Linked DNA regions of Homo sapiens: region 2 is linked to region 1. Evidence: promoter capture Hi-C in human tissues and cell types (Jung and others, 2019). All regions are on one chromosome and are shown on one strand. Each heading gives the region's core, a stretch centred on a gene start or on the middle of the fragment in contact. The rest is flanking DNA. Distances are from core to core; before and after follow the strand shown. Region 1 holds the start of SORCS3 (sortilin related VPS10 domain containing receptor 3). Region 2 overlaps SORCS3 (sortilin related VPS10 domain containing receptor 3).

Region 1 (6,780 bases), core at 2,110-4,609:
AACACATAACACGTATGAAGCAATGAGGAAGTCAGGTGTGAAGCTCAAGAGGGGATGTGGTGAAGTTGTAGATCCAGGAGTCAACACCAGGAAATGGTAGTAGAAGGACAGAAATGGGCCTGATCTCCGGGCTCATTCAGACAAGGAGAAAGGGAAAACAGAATGAGAGCCAAGCACGGAGAATTGGGGAAAATGATGGAGGCTGGGGCTCAGAATTTAAGATGTGGATAAAAGAGGACAAGCTTGACTGAGGCTGGCCAGGGAGGACCCAGAAGATCCTAGTACCATGTAGATCAAAGGAGACCTTTTCAGATGGGACAAGTTTACACATGCGGGAAGAAGAGGTTGTTGAGTGAGGCTGTCAGGCGTGTTGGGGTAGGCCTTTGACTGAGTCGCCTAAAAGCAGATGTCAAATTGCAAAAAGTCCAGGAGTGAGGAAGAGGATACTGTGGGTTCAGGTGAGAACTACTGGGAGAAGTTTGGGCACTAGAGAAGGCTAATGGGGACTCGGAAGCAGGGGGTTGGAGGCAGGGGGCTGGGGGTGGGGGCAGGGGCAGCTCAGGGCTGAGGGCAAGGATTTTCAGGCAAAGGGTGAAGGAGGGAGAGGCTGCAGGTGGAAGAAGACTGTAATTGATGGGAGCAAGGCCAAGAAAACGAACTGGTGCAGGAGGCATGTGAAAATGTCACACTTGCGGGAGTCTTTCCTTTTTTGTTTGTTTTCAAACAAAAGCTTTTAAGCTACATCTCCTCAAGCCCATCCCAAGGATCCAACTCTGCCCGGGTTCCATCTGGTAGGGCCTTCTTCAGACAGGAGAGACAGAAGGAGGCCCCTCTCAGAGCGTCTGCCTCTTTTGCACCCGACTGCTCCTGCTCAGAGGCCGCGGGAAGCTGCGGGGACTGGATGGTGCACCTCCCCAGTGCGCATAGGACTTGGGAGACCACACTCCTCCGGGCTGTGTGAGCCTCGGGTCCGCCCAGATCTCTTATACTGTGGCACCTCCGCCCAGAGCCTGAAGAGAAGAGCAGCACCGCGTCCCTCCCGAACCCCGAGCTTCGGCTCGGGCTGCAGCGCCGGGCCTCCTCCGGCAGGGGCGCTGGGAACTCGCGGATGGCCGGCTCTCGTCCAGCGCCCGATCCCGCGCCCACCTGGGCCTGCGGCGCTGGAACTTTTCTTAGGAATACCCGCTACTCCCTGTCTTTGGAAACCCACAGATGCCAGGACCCGCACCATTCTGGGCCGGACGTTGTCGCTGGCTTGGTTCTTTGGCCCAGCCTCCCCCGCTGCTAATTGCCATTTTGGCACCGGGTGGAAAGGCAAGTTCAAGAGGGCGGGGGCTCTCGGGAATCGCTGGATGTCTTCTTCCTTGGCCAGCTTAGATTCTCAGTCGCCTCTTCTGCCTCCTCCATCCCTCTTGGCTCTTACCTGGCGCCCTTTCGCCTCCTCTTCTATCTCCCTCTTCCTTTTGCACCATTCTCTCGCCCCTTTTCTCCTTCATCTTGTCTTTCCTCTCTCCCCTTTTCCCTCTATTTTCTCCTTCATTCCTTCCTCTCACCTTTCTTTCCTCTCCGCGCATTCCCCTCCCTCTCGCTCCACTTTAACCATCTTCTAGAGAGGAGGAACTCTATCTACTCCCGAAGGGGAGGAGCAGGGCTGGAGGCTGTCTCTCTCTCCCTAAGCCTCCTCCCTCCTGCCTCCTCCTTTCTTAATAGCTCCTCCTCTAGCTCCTCTAGTCTCAGACTTTTCAACCCCTAGAATCCCAGGGGCTTCTCGGAGGCGGCGAGCTACACCACATGTCCTGGGGCCTGTAAACCGCAGCTCGAGGTCGTCTGTGGGTTTAGCTCATTTCCCTTCAGCCCACCTGAAGTCTCCTTCTTCCTACGGTCACGAAGGATCTCAGCTGCACCAAGCGCGCAGGCTACACTCCTGCAGTAGCGGATTGGGGACCAGATAAGCCCACGCGGCTCCCGCCTGAGTACCCTCTTAACTGGCGGCCGACACTTTGAAACAATTGAGTCCGTTCAGAAACGGACTGGGGAGAGTGAGGGCACGACCTCAAAATCCTAGGCAGCAAAATGAGGTCTGGATCCTCCCTGGAAGAACAGACATCTCGACTACTCTCTCGCCCCACCTCTGGCCGGGAGGTCGGGGCAAGGAGAATCCCTCAACCGAGAAGATCTGGCAAGTCCCCGATCCCACCGGGGCCTTCCGCCTCTTTTCCCTCATCCCCTAGGAGGCTTTATCAGGTTCTAACCGCTTGTAGTGGGGGCCGTGGGTGCTCGGGGCGCCAAGAGGAGGGGGCTGCCGAGAGCGGCCTGCCTAGTTCTCAGCATTGCCTCTTTGACCACTCGCAGGCTCCTGGAAATGCAAACACAGCCCGTGCGTGATCCGCACGCGACCAAAAGCCGAGCGCACACCTCCCGCCCCCGCCCCACTTGCCATCGCTCACACTAACGTGCACACATGCTCGTGCAAACGCGCACGCACGGAACCGCGCGCCCCCTCACACCCAGCCGCGCTCCCGGCCCGGCTCAGCCAGGTGCCCCCACGCGGCAGCGCCCGGTCTGCCCGCCGGCCCCCTGCGAACCCCTCGCCTCACGCCCGCCTGCCTGCGCGCACGCACGCGCACGCACGCATTCCCCACGCCCCCGCGCGGGGGCGCAGGCCTTGGGTGGCGGGGTTTGGCCGGGAGCCGGCCGGGCCAGGGAGCGGCGAGCAGAGTCCAGGGTGCATCCCGCGCTTGGCTTCCGTGCGCAGCCTCCCCGCGCGGAGGCACCTGGCTCCCTCTCGGCTCTAGAACGCGAACAGTTGGCGTTGAGCACACAACTCCTCCTCCTTCTCCCCCGAGACCCCTGTACCCTCCCCGCGCGCCATCTCCCGCCCCTCATAACAGGCCCGAAGAGTAAACCCCCAAACGCGTCCAGAAGCGGCTCCCAACTCTTCGCCGGGAGCACGTTGGAGGCTGGATTTCGGAGAGACTCGGGATTGGGGTCTATTGCCGGCCCCTCCTGGATCCGGCTTGATTTTCATATTTTAAGAAGATTTTCTTATTACCTTTGATTACTCCTTTTTACCAAATTTCTGGAGGAGCTCAGTGGGGAGGATTGGGGGGAATCTGATTTTAAGAAAGAAAGCACCGAAGGGGCAATTATTAATTTTCCTCGGGTTTGGAATCACCCTCTGGACAAGAGAACGGGCGAGCGGGAGCTAGGAGGGAAGAGTGGAGAGGACCGGCGAGGCGCGCCAGCCGGAGCCACCTCCTTCCCGGCCGCCCCCTCCCCACTCCCCCTACACACACACGCTCGCTCGCTCGCCGGCGCGCGCACACCCCCCGCGCCGGACCCGCACCTCGGCGGGCGCCACACACTCGGCAGCCCGAGCCGCGGTAGCCGCAGCGGGATGGAGGCGGCGCGCACGGAGCGCCCCGCAGGCAGGCCGGGGGCGCCGCTTGTCCGGACGGGGCTCCTACTCTTGTCGACGTGGGTCCTGGCCGGCGCCGAGATCACTTGGGACGCGACAGGCGGTCCCGGACGCCCGGCGGCCCCGGCTTCGCGGCCACCGGCGTTGTCTCCACTCTCGCCGCGGGCAGTGGCCAGCCAGTGGCCGGAGGAGCTGGCGTCGGCGCGGAGAGCCGCCGTGCTGGGGCGCCGGGCCGGACCAGAGCTGCTGCCCCAGCAGGGCGGCGGCAGAGGCGGTGAGATGCAGGTGGAAGCCGGAGGGACATCACCGGCAGGCGAGCGGCGGGGCCGGGGCATCCCAGCTCCTGCCAAGCTTGGCGGCGCGAGGAGGAGTCGCCGGGCGCAGCCCCCAATCACCCAGGAACGCGGGGACGCCTGGGCCACTGCTCCGGCCGATGGTTCCAGAGGAAGCCGTCCCCTTGCTAAGGGTTCCCGGGAGGAGGTGAAGGCGCCGCGGGCTGGGGGGTCGGCGGCTGAAGACCTCCGGCTGCCCAGCACCTCCTTCGCGCTGACCGGGGACTCGGCCCACAACCAAGCCATGGTGCACTGGTCGGGACACAACAGCAGCGTGAGTACCCACCCGGCGGCGGGTCCGCCTGTTTCCTGACACCGAAGGGGAATGGGGGGGTGGGTGGGAGCGAGGGACAGATAGTTGCTCGGGGGTCGAGGCGGGGGACGCCTCGACTTTTCGAGATAACAGGTTTGTCCGATTCCCCCCACGCCCCCAACAGGTTAACGGAGTTTGTTGTTAGACGCTGTGTGTGTTTGTTTACTGGAGACCCTAGGCTTCGGCCGCCGGGAGGGGAGTGGAGGAAGGGGCTTCTTAAAGATGAGTGGGGGAGGGATCTGTGCTCACTTTCTCCAATACTTGGCTTGGAGGGTCAGTTTTCCTGTTTGCGGGGTGCTTGAATTCTTGGATGAGAAAAAGGGCTGACTTGGGGCGGGAGCCGCTGAACAGACCGATTCCTGCGGCTGCCGGGCTCCCCCTACCCCCACCCCACCCCCACCCCCCCTCCCGTCACGCGAAAGGGAACCCGGAAGGCCATTCGGACTCCCAGCCTCCTGCTCGCCTCGGGGTCGCTGCTATCCGCTCCAGGCGCGCAGTCCTCCAGCCCAAGAGGGAGGCTCGGCCAAGTCGGCCCCCAGCCTTGGCCTTCAGGTAACCCCGGTTCCTCCTTCAAAGTCCAGGGAGCGGCCCTGGAAAGCCGTAGCAGAGGCCGTAAAAAAAAGTTTAAAGCGTGAAGCGAAATTCCACACCCATCCAGCGCTCATGCCACACCGCTCGCCCTCACGCACGCACAGGCACACGGAAGTCGCTCAGCAGAAAACTCTCGACTTCACCATTGCGTCCTGCGCCACAAACGGCTCCCTGAGCGGAGTTGGGTGCCTGAGCTTCCTGCACACCTCTCCACCCGCTTTTCCCCGCCACCGGGTTCTCCTGGACAAGGATGTACCGAGAGGTGGCGTCGTTGAGCCCGGTCTGGCCTACTCCGGCATTCCGAACTGGGCGCCCGACTGAGCATCGCGCCTGCCTGGCAGCTGCAGCGGCCCGCAGCGCGTGCCCGGAGGGGCTCCCCCTACCTCGCCGGCACCCAGCGCTGTGCAGCCAAGCAAAGAAAAGGCGGGGGACAGGTTCCCACCATCTCCCCGACTTCCCTCCCTCCCGCGGTCCCTACTAGAGCCAGATTTGGAAAATCCTTTCCTCTTCTCTGGCTCCATGGTTCAGATCAGAACCTGGCGTTGGGTAGGGTGCACGCTCCAGGCGGAGGATGACGGGTGTCTGTACAAGCAGCCTTGGGGAACTGATTTGATAGGAACTCACCCCGCAACTCCCTGCCGTTTTGTATTTCTCTTCATGACCGGTGTTTGACAAAATTTCTCTGGGAAATTTTTGCCTTATTTTAACAGAGCCTGGGATGTCCAGGATTGGGTATCTAATAAGAGGAAAGCGAGGGGTCCGCAGAAGGTAGTACATAAGCAATACCAAAGTGCAGATTTCTTGGTTTCTAATGATGCACAGCGCGGGCAGCCCAGCCTGGGTAGCCCATGCTGGTCTTGAAGGACCAGTGAAGTCCAGCTTCGCAGCAGCGCGATGGCGGGCTTCATCTGCCTGGGATGAAGACCCCCGTAGCCTCGGGCTGACAGCTCTGGCGAGAGGGGTGGACAATGTGTGCCTTTGCAGGGCTGGGTGATTGAAGACTTCCAAGTCCCTTCCAAGAGGACTTGGATATGTGTGTGCTGGGGGGAGATTCTCTGACCTCAGGGTTGATTCTCTGACAGCAGGGGTTGTGAATCCCAACTTCATTTTAGTTTGATAATTAGGGTGTGTGTGTGTGTGTGTGTGTGTGTGTGTGTGTGTTGGGGTTCTTACTTGGTGAGGAGGATGGATGGATGGATAGGATGTGTGGAAGTAAATATATCCTAGGAAGAGGAGGATGCAATGTCTTTACATCTGTGGCTTCCCTACTGCCACATTAGGACAATATAAATTCACCCTCCCTGAAGAGTTTTTCTGTGTCTCTGCTTTTATTTTAAGGATTATTTTTGAGTATTTACAAAGCCTCTGAAGATGGGACTTTAGAGAAAATGCTTCCTGCAAATAGCAGTTAACTGTGCATGGCCTTCTTTGCTCATCTTCAAAGCAGTTGTGCAGCAGAAGAGGTGAGGGGCAGGTCTGGCCCGTGCTCCCTGGGGAAATGACTCTTCAGTCAAATGACGGCCAAAGGGGCTTGGGGACTGGAGCAGTTGGGCTTGGAGACCTTGGTGACAGCAATGAGATTGGACAATGTATGAACAGCCCACAGGGACTTATTGGTTGTGCTCTTGGCCAGCCTTACTGCCCATGCAAGAGCACCACAGGTGGATGTAGGGCCACGCACTGTCCTCTCTCTCCAATCTGGGGAATAACTGCCTCTTTAGCCCCTAGGCTGGACCTGTCTCTTCTGACCACATTTTGTAGGCAATACGAGAGAGAGATCCTTGATTATCAGGTCTGTGAGCCTGTGTAAAGAAGATGGAGAAGCATACTCACATGGCCCTGTCTTTGAGACTTTAAGGAAATCTCCTGGAGAGTCACTGGGAAACCAGTTTCAGCAACATTGACCCAGCTGGTTTTTCTCCTGTCCCCCTTTCCTGATGGCAGGAAAAGAAGGTGTTGTAAATAAAAGCCAGGGTGAAGAGTGATGGGGATGAGGACACTTTGGGAAGATTCCTTCATCATTGGTTTCAAAGTGGAGGGAGATGTCCGTAAAACAGAGAACATGGGGCCTAGCTCCAGGCTCTTATGACGTGGAAAGAGAATTTTATCTTTTATTCTGGCTTCTG
Region 2 (6,780 bases), core at 2,116-4,615, 140 kb after region 1:
AACATGGGATTTGCAGTTGGAAACCTGAGTTTCAGTCTGAGATTTGCTGTTAGTTAGCTTTGGCCTTGGGCACACAGCAATTTAAGTTCTCTGAGTGTTAGTTTCTTCACCTGTATTTTATAGGTGAAGGCACAGAGCCTCTTCATTGAGGAATAAATGAGAGAATGTTTGCAGAGCACACAGCACAGTGTTTGAAGCAAGTAAGTGCTCAGTAAGTGTTATTTCTTTTTCTACACTCCATGCCAAGTCTTTGTTAGGTGTTAGGAATGCAAAGATGTATATAAGTCAAGGGCTTCCTGCTTGCAAGACATCTGTTGACTTTAGGCACACAGACACCCAGTGATGATGATCAGTACTGGCAGTAAGAAAATGATGATTTGGTGCATAAGAGATGATATGTTCAGCTCACAGAGTACTGAACTAGAAAGCCAATGGCCAGTGTGCTCCTGTTGACAATCAGGACAGAAAAATACAGTGCAGCTGGGGCCGTTCTATAAAGACAGAATGACAGACTCCAGCACGGATTTGAGTTTGGGGATGGCATTTAGACAGTCCCTCTTGGCAGCACCATAGTTGAAATTCTCCAGACAGAACATCATTGGCATTTATGTTTCTAGAGCTGGACTCACACCATGGGGGTGGGATTCTAAAGCTTAGAAGAAACAGCCCTTGAAAGCCAGGGGTTTCTTGCTTTTCTGGAAGACAAAGCATGCTTACTTGAATAGCAAGAAGGTAGAAGCAGAGAGGCATAGCTACATCTGACCCCTGGCAAGTGCTTGATGATGTGAACTTTTCCCTCCTGCCCATATTTCTTTCCTATTCTTTTATTAAAGAGGCAGAAATTGAACACTTGTTGGTGTTGAGCACTAAGGGTCTAGAAGTGAATGAACCTGGTATTTGCCTCTGGAAGATTCCAGTGTGACTGGGGAGACAGACATGTAGGCAAGTATACTCAGCAAAGTATTATAGGTGCTAAGGACGCTGGGAGAGGGTACACTGGGCAGGGGGAGGGAGGTGAAAGGTACTAATATTCCACCTGGAGGTGAGGAACATGTGGTTGTATGAAGATATCTACAGAAAGAGTTTCTGTGGGTCCATGGTGGTCTGGGGAGGTTTTCTGGAAGAAGCAAGCTCTGAGCTATTTACTAACATCTCCCTTCAGGTCACAGAGCTATTCCCTAAAGCTCCCCAAGGTTGGGGAATTCTTATGTGTATTTTGAGTTCTTTCTGCTAGGCCAGCTCAAATGTTGCCAGACATTGCAAGGGTAGTCGGGGCTGGCGGGAAGCCCTCATCTAAAAGTCAATTACATTTGCCTTTGGAAAATGGGACAAGACATTTATGCTTAATATTTGGGTGTTTTTGTTGTTGGCTTTAAAAAATTTCTTTTTCAGGTCACACTCTGCTAGTGAAATACCATTAATTTCAAATGGAATTAAATGTCTGTTCTGTGTAGAGCACCCTTGCCAAATAATTACATCAAATATATAGTTTGCAAGGAAGATTGTCTATTTATCTTTTCTTAAAGGGCAGTCCAGAATCCAGACATACTGCATGGCCCCCTCCGAGAGCCACCCACAGCCTTTTCTTTAGTCTTTTACCCAAGATCGCTGTATCAGCTCATCCTTCTCCAAGAACCTGGGTCAGGAAAAATTGTAATACTCAGAGAACTTTTCTGTATTATCTTCACTAACGGTATCAGCTTTAATAAAAATACAAGTACCCAAGCTTATTCAGCAGCAGGGAAAAAAAAAAAAAAACCTCACAAAGCCCCTCATAGTTTTACTTTGTTATGTGATGACAGGCAGACAGGCAGAGAGAACAAAAAAGGTACATAAGGGGGAGATACAGTTGCTTCTAGAGTGAGGGAGATGGGGGTGGTGGGGGGTGGAGGCTTTGGGGGCATCCTACATGCCCAGGTCACAGTGGTACCTCTTGCGCTGCAGGTATCTGTGGCTATTCCCTCCTTCTGGGACCCCAGAATTAAGCATCCTTTTGGCCTCACCTTCTCATAGTTGGGAGAGTTGGCTGGAAAATAGTGAACCTGGAACTTGAGGTGACTCTGAAGATATTCCTGTTTAATGTCATCATTTTGCAAATAAGGAAACCGATACCCAGACAAGGGAAATTCAGACCCTGCTCACAGTTTACTGACAAGTGCATGAGTGAATGAGAACCTGGCTGTCCTCCGGGGGTAGCTGCACAGTTACACACTGAGCTGCAGGCAAGGGGGATGAGACCCCAACATGCTTAATTCCCAGGCTGTGCACTTCCCACTGCCCCATTCCAACCTGCTGTAGCTCAGTGAGGGGTGTGAGCAGAGCAAAGACTGGGACTGCAGCAGGCAATGCCTTTGCCCTCGCAACCTATTCTTTCCTACCTCCCATCTGGGTGGTTTTTCACCAGGGGCAAATTTTGCCTTGCAGGGGATATTCAGAAATGTCTGAAGACATTTGTCACAACTGGGGGGAGAGTGCTACTGGCATCTAGTGGTTAGAGGCCAGGGATGCTGCTGCACATCCTGCAATGCACAGGACAACCCTCACAACAAAGTTATCAGCCCCTAAATGCCAATAATGCTGCTGTTGCAAAACTGCCTGATTTTGTGTGTGAGTGTGTGTCGGGGGTAGTGTATTTGAAAGAGATTAGGGCTCAGTGGGACTGCAGTGAGGGTACTGATATCATTTTAAGGGTGATGGATTAGGTTCCTGTTTTACAAACTTGCCCACGCATTTGAGTTATACAGATAGCTTGTTAAAAAAGTATCAATTTTTACTGGGGTGAGATTATATCTCATAGAGGTAGAGAGTGAAATGGTGGTTACCAGAGACTGGGAAGGGCTAGGGGAGGGAGGGTTGAAGGTAAGCTCATTATTGAGTATGAAAATACAGTTAGATAGAAGGAATAAGATCTAGCATTTGTACAACAGGGAAATTATAGTTAACAGTAATATATGGTATATTTCAAAGTAGCTAGAAGAGAAGAATTGGAGTGTTGCCAACACAAAAGGACAAATGTCTTAGACGATGGATATCCCAATTACCCTGATTTGATCATTGTATACATGTATCAAGATGTCATATGTACCCTCAAAGTTTGTACAACCATTCTATACCAATTAACAAATTCTAGGCCCGGTTCCATACATGCATCTCCAGGGGTGGGCCTGGGAATTGGTATTGTTACTCTGCTTCAAAGGTGCTTCTGACATTGGGCCTATTTGGGGAAATAATGGATTCAGGTGCAGTGTTGGTTGAACATTTGTTATTTGCCTATTCAGATAAATCTGGATTTTAATGTCAGCTCTGTCATTTATCAACTGTGTGACCTTGGGCAAGTCACTTATTCTTCCAGCCTGCATTGTCTCATTCTCAAAGAGGAATGATCACATCCACTTCATGGTTTGCAGTGAGCATACAATGAGATAACATGCATCAAAGCACCAGCTCAGTTCCTGGTTGGCAGTAGGTGTTCATTCCTGTCAGATGAGTCTGGTAGTGTGTTAAGTTAACAATAATAATGAGACCCAACGGTCGTCAACCACTAATATCCCAGGCACCGTGTTAAATGCTTTTATAATATCTTTTCTCCTTAGCTTCACAGCAACCTTGTTTTATAGCTGGGGCATATTGTAGGTACTTGGCCTGTGGTAGGCTGAGTAATGCACATCTCCAGGCATTACTGGCCTTACAGATGTGGACCTGCAAAAGGTCCACATCTCCACTCCTGGAACCTGTGGATGTTACCCTATGTGGCAAAAGGGACTTCCTGTGGATGTTACCCTATGTGGCAAAAGGGACTTTGCATACATGATTAAGCCAAGGATCTTGAGGGGGGATCATTTTGGATTATCTGTGTGGGCCTGATCTAATCACAGGGTTCTTCATAAGGGGAGGCAAGTGATGAGAGGAGACAGAAGATTTAACAATGGAAGCCAGTCATTGGGTGGCACAAGGAAGGAATCATGAGTCAAGGAATGTCACCAGCCTCCAGAATTGAGAATAGGCAAAGAAAGGAATGCTTCCCTGGAGCCTCCAGACAGAGCCAGCCTTGCTGACATCTCGATGTTAGTTCTCTGCAAGACCCATTCTGGACTTTTGACTTCTAGAACTGGAAGAAAATAAGGTTGCGTTGTCTTTAAGCTCCATGCTGTGGTCTTTTGTTGTAGCAGCCGTAGGAAAGGAATACTCTTCCTCTGGCCTCATATCCAGAGATGCTGAGCTCTGTGCCAGGCATTGCAGAGTGACACAAGGAAGTTGGACACCTACCACCTGACTGATGAGAGGACACGTACACACAACTGAAAAAGGCCAGGGAATTTGCAGCAAGGAACAAATGAAAATATACGAGAGAAAATGTTGAGAGTAAGAAGATCTTCCACACCAGGACTTGCAGTGTGGACATCCAGGGGGACTCCACGGAGGAAGTGTGAAGGCTGCCGGCCCCTGAAGTATGCAGTTCATGCCTTGTAAAGACAGCTTGGTGCCCTGGAAACAATGACTTCTCTCCTGCCCAGTGATCCATTGGCCCCTTAGATGTTGATCCTGCACCTGGTCTCCTGCCCTCTCCTTTTCCACGTGGTGCAGTGGCTTCTGCTGCTGATCAACATATTCCCAGAGCTGCCTGTACCTCCCGGTGACTATGAGGATGGCAGGTGAGGGCCTCTTCATTCCCCATCTCCACTAACCACGCAAGTCTCTACTCTGCCCTGCCTCACCCCGCGCGCTCCGCCATGTTGATTGGTGAGGGCGGTGTATGTCAGTGCTGAGTAACGTGGTTATTAGAAGTATGAATTATTTAAGGAGACGTGCACATCATTAACCTGTCATTCATCCGAGGGAGGCTTGACATGTGAATTAGCCATGCACATTGCTATTTTGCTTATGGGGAGGGGAAGGGAGGTGGAAGGTGGGGCAGCGGGGCAGGAGTAGGGGTGACGGGTGGTACAAATAATCGAATTGGCTGCACTTGTGAAGGATTGGGAAGAATTGCCCTGAGAGGAGGCAGTTTTTTTTTTTTTAAGCCACAACGGAGCAATTTGATGGCAGAGTATTTTTGGCTTCAAGACACTGTGAATTGGAAATGCAGGAGAACTAGCACGCCACACGTTCAGCGGCATCTGTGAGCATACATACCAATATGATCACTGTAATTATAATAATAATAAATGTTCTCTTGTGGTGTGACTTGTGGAGGTCACCCTGAGATGAGAAAGTGAAGAGGAAGGGAGGTGGAAAGGGAAGCTATTAATAAACCTTAGACACAGCCTTCAGCTTTCCCTTACCCCTCTCCTACACTGAACCACGCATACTCGGCCCCCTGGCCCAGACTTTGGTGACATATGAGCCCACCTGGTCTGGCATCATGACCCCTTGGTAGCTGTTCACTCTTCCAAATGGGCTGCTTTGTTAGATGAACAGGTCAGTTCTGGTTATTGCCCCTGTTTGGATCTGCAGGGGCCTCTGCTCCAAAAGCAGATGCTCCTTTTGTGAGCTGCTGAGGTATGAAACCAGATCTCTGGGTGGGATGGGAGATAAGGACCATTTCTGCTAGAATATGCTGAATTATGGCTCTGAAACCAATTACCTTTAGAGGGAGACCAGCCCTAGAGTTGTTCACAACTGGGAATTGCCTGTGTCTTCTGACAATCATCAAATATTTGTTTAGTGTCTGCCAGATGATCCTCTTCTTTCAGGGGACATGGAAGTGTCAGAGAAAATCTCTCCTGAGAAGTTTACCATCTTCTTAGGGAAAGACTAATAACACATAGGTACTAACTGTAGAATATTGTTATTATTACTATTTCCAGCACAGCTAGGAATAATATTCTCTAATATCAGAGAGTCATATTTTTATAAGATGCATTATATTGCTTTATTGGCTACTGGTGGTAATAGATGGAAAGTATTGTCATACCAGTATGGATGTGTTTTGCACAGAAAATGAGGAAAATCACTGGTGATTAGATGATAGACAACTCTGTAGGCAGGTGTAGTAGTAATGCTGATATCTGACATCTGCAGAACGCTTTATAGCTCAGATCTCACCTTTGCAACTCATTTGATCTTTACAACAGTTGACAGCAAGTCATCTGAAGCCAGAGAAGTTAAGGAGCTTGTTTATGTCATATAGCTTGTAGGTAGAAGGGCTGGGATTGGAGCCCCTTGTGATGCCATGGCCAGGACTTGTCCCACCCCACCACAGCTGCTAGCATCACAGAATGTTATGTATTTGTATGTGGTATGTGTGTCACAGTGCTCTATGGTTTCAAAGTCTTTTCACATCAATCACCTCCTTTGATTCTCACAGAGGTTGAGTGCATGAGGTAGGTTCAGTTTTATTCTGGCCATTTCAGGGGCAGTGGGTTTGTGGAGGATTAGCCTTGAACCATCTGCTAGCTGATGTGTTAGTAGAGCATGTTGACTCCTGGAGAAAACACACACAAATATGTGTACACACACACACTTTTCAAGAAACAAAACCACACAGAACAAACAAAAAATGATAATAGAAAGCTGCAAGTGTAAAGTATATTAAGTATATTTACTGTATCATTGTGCCTTGCTAATTACCAGATAACAGTTATCCTTTCTTGGATTCCATAATGTAACAGCATAAGATGGGCAGGTGCCCCCATATCCTGCTGCTGCTCATCAGGCCTGATTTGGGTATTTATGGTTGTCCTGGCCTTTTGGTATCAGGGTGAGTCTTCCTGCTCTTCAGCTCTGGACACCTCTTGGTCTGCCCTATTGTTCTGCCATCATTTGCTCACTGTGTTCTCC

Evidence for each region. Contacts are between HindIII fragments. The study calls those that stand out against the background at their distance.
Region 2: a contact is called between a fragment that was not itself captured here and the fragment with the promoter of SORCS3 in region 1, in 1 of the 25 tissues and cell types used here (spleen).

Annotation. Positions count from the first base shown.
Region 1 is chr10:104,637,931-104,644,710 of GRCh38, forward strand. It overlaps SORCS3 (sortilin related VPS10 domain containing receptor 3), which reads left to right and starts at 3,360. Exons shown (of 27, transcript NM_014978.3): 1 at 3,360-4,024. The coding sequence starts at 3,398. The HindIII fragment of the contact is 5,425 bases long and covers 487-5,911 here.
Region 2 is chr10:104,775,133-104,781,912 of GRCh38, forward strand. All of the region lies in intron 1 of SORCS3 (sortilin related VPS10 domain containing receptor 3), which reads left to right. Among named protein-coding and RNA genes, the nearest start is that of SORCS3-AS1, 110 kb to the left of the region's middle. The HindIII fragment of the contact is 4,352 bases long and covers 1,190-5,541 here.